2 separate regions of the Homo sapiens genome follow, and region 2 is linked to region 1. Evidence: promoter capture Hi-C in 16 types of primary human blood cells and fetal thymus (Javierre and others, 2016). All regions are on one chromosome and are shown on one strand. Each heading gives the region's core, a stretch centred on a gene start or on the middle of the fragment in contact. The rest is flanking DNA. Distances are from core to core; before and after follow the strand shown. Region 1 holds the start of LILRA6 (leukocyte immunoglobulin like receptor A6). Region 2 has its middle 10 kb from the start of LENG8-AS1.

The links. The method cuts DNA at HindIII sites, captures the fragments that hold promoters and counts their contacts. A CHiCAGO score of 5 or more calls a contact.
Region 2: a fragment that was not itself captured here is called in contact with the fragment with the promoter of LILRA6 in region 1 in 1 of 17 cell types (monocytes); the score reaches 6.0 in monocytes.

What each region holds. Positions count from the first base shown.
Region 1 is chr19:54,241,309-54,244,641 of GRCh38, forward strand. It overlaps LILRA6 (leukocyte immunoglobulin like receptor A6), which reads right to left and starts at 1,482. Exons shown (of 8, transcript NM_024318.5): 1 at 1,410-1,482; 2 at 1,211-1,246; 3 at 718-1,002; 4 at 268-570. The coding sequence starts at 1,443. It overlaps LOC107987463 (a long non-coding RNA gene), which reads right to left. Exons shown (of 3, transcript XR_007067341.1): 3 at 2,085-2,153. RefSeq lists an enhancer at 2,557-3,055. The HindIII fragment of the contact is 25,461 bases long and covers 1-3,333 here.
Region 2 is chr19:54,437,105-54,440,297 of GRCh38, forward strand. No RefSeq gene overlaps it. Among named protein-coding and RNA genes, the nearest start is that of LENG8-AS1, 10 kb to the right of the region's middle. The HindIII fragment of the contact is 1,153 bases long and covers 1,188-2,340 here.

The DNA.
Region 1 (3,333 bases), core at 232-2,731:
CACTGTGCCTGATCTTTCCTCCTCTCCCTGAGAGCTGGGACCTCACAGCAAACACACCGATGCCTTCCTGAGTCCTCCCCGTTCAGGTGAGCGTGGCTGAGGGCTCCTCCTCCCATGTCAGAGCCTCCCCATGGGGTCTCCCTCATGCCTTCAGCCCGTCCTTCAACACATCACTCTGGGTCCTTTCCAGATTCAGTCACCAGCCAAACTCCCCACAACCTGTCAGCTGCCCCGAAAGTGTGTTAGACAAGGCCGTGGCTCCCTCACCTGAGGGCAGAATCTCCAGGGGGTCACTGGGGTGGGACCACACCCGGGGGGTGTTCATATAATAGTAATAGCATGTGAACCTCCACCTGTGGCTGGGGTTCACGGGGCCCACAGGGAACAGGGCCTGGAACCCCCCACTGTGGAGCTGCTGTGAGTCCAGGGTCCGGGGGAGCTGGTGTTCTCCTTCCTTCATCAGAACAAAATGGTGATATCCCTTCTGTGAGCCACATTGGAGGGTCATATTCCCCCCTGAGGCCACCACAGGGCTGGGCAGGGCTGAGAGGGTGGGTTTGCTATAGGCTCCTAGGAGAGAAAGAGGCACCATGTTAAATGGGGCTCCCACCTCCCACATCATCCCCAGGGCTGGGCTGTGAGAGGGAGACACCCCTGAGAGCCGACCCCCTTCCTGAGGGCAGAGCCTGGGGCTGGGACCCCAGAGTGTCCTCTCACCTGTCATCACCAGCTCCAGGGGGTCGCTGGGCTCTGACCAGCCTGCAGAGCTGTAATAGTGGCAGCGGTATCTCCCCGCATGGTGCTCTGTTATGGATGGGATGGAGAATCTGGCCTTGTTCTTGGGTTCCAGTGGGTTATTTCTGTCCCAGGGCTCTGGGCTTCCCTCTTTATCCAGTCGGTACTCCTGGGCCTCCAGGCTCCCCTGACACCAGATGGTCACGGGGCTCCCCCAGCTGATCACAGAGCCTGGCTCAGCCCAGAGGGTGGGTTTGGGGAAGGGCCCTAGATGGAAATCAGAGGCTGGATCCCAAGACATCCCCACGCTCAGATCCCAGCTCCCAGCCCCAGGACTTCCTCATCATCCCCATCAGTCACCCAGAACTACTGTCTCCTCCCCACCCAGAACTGCTGTCTCCTCCCCCAGCTGCCCATGTGTGGCCCTTGTCCCTAGTAAGGATGAGGGACCTGGGACAGCTGGGGACAGACTCACCTGCCTGCACGTGGGTCCTGGGGCCCAGACTCAGCCCTGGAAGAGAATTCCCTGTGAGGCATTTGCCCTGAAGCCTGAGCAGGTCCTCCCCGCCCTGGTGCCTCCTGAGCTTTTGAGGTCTCCTGATGGACCAGGGCTTGTGTGTGGGGTGGGGTTCCTCCAAGACTCAGATCTCCCCCTCCCCATCTTGAAATCTCACCTAGGCAGAGCAGGGCTGCGAGGGTGGGGGTCATGGCGTCTCCTCCTGGTGACCCCGGGCTCTGCAGAGGGATGAGCCCTCAGTGCTGGCAGGACAGAGAGACACACAGGGTGTGGCCGCTCGGAGGCTGGGTCCTTCTTGTCATGGGGTTGTCTCATCCTCAGCCCACAGGAAGAGGAACTGCCACCCCAGGAACCTGGCTCTGATTTCCCCAGGGCTGAAGTGGGGGCAGGCACCAGGCTCTCTGCAGGCATTTCAGAGAGAAATGGGGTCTCCCTGCCCCCGGGCCACTGTCTGCCTGATTTATCTTTATCTCACTGAGAGCTAGGACACAGCAGCAAATAGAACCAGTGCCTTCTGGAGTCAGCCCCTTTGAGGCGAGGGTGACTGTGGGCTCATCCTCCCTCTCAGAGCCTCCCCATGGGGTCTCCCTCCCTCCTTCAGCCCGTCCATCAGCTCAGCGTTACGGGGTCCTTACCATGGCAGTCGTCTCTCCAGCCCTGGAGATGCTTCAGGGAAGACCCAGGTCCATGCTGCAGGCAGACTCAGATCAGCAGAGACGCACCTGACACCTGGCTGTGTAGTCCAGGCTGAGCTGCGTGTAGCAGTGAGCACAGAGGAGAAATGCAGCGTCTACCGTGGTGGCTCATGCCTGGAATCCCAGCACTTCAGGAGGCTGTGGCGGGTGATGGCTTGAGGCCAGGAGCTTCAGACAGTCCTGGGAAACAGACTGTGACCCTGTTTCTACAGAAAAGAAAAAAGTGAGCTGGGCATGGAGGCTCATGCCTGTGGTCCCAGCTACTCAGGAGGCTGAGGTGGGAGGACCACCTGGGCCCGGGAGGCGGAGGCTGCAGGGAGATATGATCACCCCTTGGCCTTCCAGCCTGGGCGACAGCGCAGGATCCTGTCTGAAAAGGAGAAATAGAGGGGATAAAGAGAAATATATATATATATATATATATGTTTCATTGTAATCTATAATCTGATTCTGGGGAAGGTGAGCTGATTTGTATTTAATTCCTGATTATCATCTAGGGTTTATGAGACTTTGGACATGAATGTCACCTCTGAGCCTGCTGTCGTGAACCCCACTCATCACAGTGGCTGTGGGGGTCAGTGGTGCCCAGGACATGGGAGGCTCAGCCATGGTGAATTTCCAGACCAGTTCAGACAGGAGGGTGGGGACGGGAGAGGATCCTGGTGCTGGGCTCCACAGTTGAGGAGGATGATTGACGCCCCCATTCAAGAGCCCACATTGGCTCCAAATACCATGAAATTCTTGTGATACGTCTGAAATATGCAGATCATCACAGCCACAGGCCGAGAAAGAGGAAGAACAGTTCCTCACATTGAGACGCATCCCCTTCCATGAGCAGAGTTCAATGCTGAGTGGCCACAGGTGTCTGGGACCACCGAGCGTCATTAGGGAGGAGGAGGCTCCCACCTCCATGTGGGACAGAAGAGGAACCCCACGTCCTCCCAGGCAGGGAGGGGTCAGGGCTCTGGGTGAGGCTGGAAGCGGTGGCTCCCCCTCCCCTGTGTGTGTGGACAGGCGCTGGGGGGTCTCTGCTCACTCACTGGAGGCCACGGTCAGCGCTCAGCCCCTCCCCTGTGTGTGAGAAACAGATTCGATCCACGGTGGTCAGACATGGGCGTCTGCCCCACAGGTGAGTGTGAGGCTGGCGTTGGTCCCATCCCTGCTGGGCACAATCTTGAGCTGACACTGAGTTTGGGGGAGTGGGGCAGGAGCAGCGGCAACAATCCCCTTCATCAGGCTGATGCCTGGACAGCCGTGGGAGAAACCCTTTATGAAAGGCCAGGTGCGTGGGAGGAGCTGTCCCACAGGAATGACAACCAAGATACGTGAGGAAAACACAGACAGTTGTTGAAATGCATTAGACAGACGTCGTGAAGGTGAAAAATA
Region 2 (3,193 bases), core at 514-3,013, 200 kb after region 1:
CATATCGGCTCTCCATCTGGCCAAAAACTTCTATAGATAAGATGGGTGGAAGATCTAGATGTATGCAAGTAAAGGCACAGAAGAATTTCTAGAGAAATTAGGAGGGTGGGCATGGTGGTGCATGCCTGTGGTTCCAGCTACTCGGGAGGCTGAGACTCCTTGCTTGAGCCCGTTTCGAGGTAGCAGTGAGCTGTGATCGTGCCACTGCACTCCAGCCTGGGCAACAGAGCAAGACCCTGCCTCTTTTTTTTTTTTTTTTTTTGTTTTTGAGACGGAGTCTCGCTCTGTCACCCAGGTTGGAGTGCAGTGGCGCGATCTCGGCTCACTGCAAGCTCCGCCTCCCAGGTTCATGCCATTCTCCTGCCTCAGCCTCCCAAGTAGCTGGGACTACAGGCGCCCGCCAACACGTCCGGCTAATTTTTTGTATTTTTAGTAGAAACGGGGTTTCACCGTGTTAGCCAAGATGGTCTCGATCTCCTGACCTCGTGATCCGCCCGTCTCGGCCTCCCAAAGTGCTGGGAATACAGGCGTGAGCCACCGCGCCCGGCCAAGACCCTGCCTCTTAAAAAAAAAAAAAAAAAAAGACAAAAAACAGAGAGAGGCTGGCTGCGGTGGCTCATGACTGTAATCCCAGCATTTTGAGAGGCCAAGGTGGGTGGATCCCTTGAGGCCAGGAGTTTGAGAGCAGAGTGGCCAACATGGTGAAACCCCGTCTCTACTTAAAGAAAAAAAAAATTAGCTGGGCATGGTGGCACAGGTCTGTAAGCCCAGCTACTCGGGAGGCTGAGGCAGGAGAATTGCTTGAACCCGGGAGGTGGAGGTTGCACCACTGTACTCCAGCCTGGGAGATCAAGTGAGACTCCATCTCAGAAAAAAACAAAACAAAACAAAACAAACCAGAGAAATTAGGAGAATATTTGTATATTGTCTGCATGTCATGTATCTGGGTAGGGAAAATGGGGAGGGAGGAGTTTAAGCAGGAGATCATAAAACCAGAAAGGAAAAGATAGCTTAGTTGGCAAATTATAGATTGAAAAACATACCGTAAAGTCAAATGGCAAATTGACAGACTGGGGAACAGTGAGTGTGTGCGTGCGTGTGTGTGTGTGTGTGTGTGTGTGTGTGTGTGTGTGTATGTTAACAGTTATGATGCAGAAATGTTATTCTTAAAAGATATAATCTACAAAAGCTTTCATAAACTAAGAAAAAGACAACCCATTTAAAAGTAATCAATTGAGTTGAATACTCAATAAAAATTCCAACATCAGTAAACAGACAAAAAGATTCAAACTCTAATAATTGGGAAATGCAATTTGAAAGAATGAGAAACTACACTTTTTCACTACCTAGACACAATGAAATTAACAAGAGTGGTGATGTCCTGGGCGGGCGAGGACCTAGAGGAACAGGCACTCAAAACACTTCTCCTGAGGCTGTGAGCTGCCACCATCCCTTGAAAAAAAAAAAAAATGCGCTTGTATGTGATCAGATCAAAACTGCATACACCCCATGCCCCAACAATCCTGCTTTTGGGAATTGATTTACAGAAAAAGACACACAGGCTTCTGAAGACTTCTATTTAGAGCTGCCTGTTACAACGATACCACTTTGATCAGCTAAACCCTGAAAACAAACATGCACAAAAAGAGAAGTCCAATAACTGACTGCACAGCAGGGCTCTCTGGAAGAAACCAGCTCTTGGCTGAGTTGAGGATGTGAGGGAAAAGCCTGGCAGAGAGGAGCTATCAGAGCAGGGTGTGGCAGACAGCAGTGGCAGAGTGGACTGAAGGAGAGGGGCCTGCACAGTGAAGGGCCCAGCTTATCATTCAAGGCACCCCAGGCCACCATCCTGGCCCTGCTTTTCATGACCTTCACGGATATGGGAAAGTCACTTGACCCGTTAGACCTCGGTTGCCTCTTTGATCAAACGGGTATCAGAAATCCAAAATTCCAAAATCCACAGATCCAAAGAGCTCCAAAGTCAAGCCATCCCCAAGCTCATTGGGCAGGAAAACCTGACCTGTGTTGGTGGGAGATGACTTACAGACATGACTGACACGCTTGGTGTGAACGTTCACATACTTCCCTGCAGAAAAGTTAACCAGGCTGCTGCACACTGCTGTGCTGAGCACTGAGGGTGCCGTGTGCCCTGTGGAGTAGAGATCATATTGCCTTTGCAACTGAAAAATCCTGAATCTCAACACACACCTGGCTCCGAGGGGATCGAGTTGGTGCTTGGTGACCCACAGTGCCAGATGCTGGTGTACAGCGTGGGGCCTGCTGCTGCTCTGTGCCTGTCAATCATTTCTATTTTGTGTACTGCAAGGAGCGTTCAGAGGAAGCTTTAGATATGTGGGCCTGACGGTGGGAATAAAAATCAACTGCAATTTCAGGGAGGGGTTCTGGGGGCCACATGCGTTCACTCACTTTTTCCTAACCATGTGGGCTGTCTGCCCCAGGCCCGGCCCTGCTGCTATGCTGACTTCTTTCCTCTCAAACACTGCCCTCTAGTGCCCCTGAGCCCATTTCCCAAGCACAGGCATCCGCTGGCTGTTGGGCGGCTGCAAAGTACCTTGAGACTCAGCTGCTTGATCTCCCATGCCAATGAGCCTGGGGGTGATCTCTCAACAAGAAGTTGGCCGGGCACCCTGGCTCACGCCTGTAATCCCAGCACTGTGGGAGGCTGGGGCAGGCGATCACCTGAGGTCAGGAGTTTGAGACCAGCCTGGCCAACACGGTGAAACCCCATCTCTACTAAACACAAAAATTAGCCGGGCATGGTGGCGGGCGCCTGCAATCCCAGCTACTCAGGAGGCTGAGGCAGGAGAATCACCTGAACCCGGGATGCGGAGCTTGCAGTGAGCCGAGATCGCGCCACTGCACTCCAGCCTGGGCGACAGAGCAAGACTCCGTCTCAAAAAAAAAAAAAAAAAAAAAAAAGGCATTTTACCCAAACTTTACAAAAGGAAAATCCAGTGTTATTTTTAGAATGTTACCTATGGGGGCTTCCACTGCGACCAGGATGGAGTCACAGAGACTGGACTTGACCCCCCAAAAATAGAGTAAATACAAGAAAACAACAGTGGTCAAGACTCTACCAAGAAAGTGATCCCTGAGGAACGGGAAACATCAAGGCAAGCCCTAAAATTGCCGCTGGGTCCTGTTGCAAGTTTCTAGACCACGGGACAGGGAG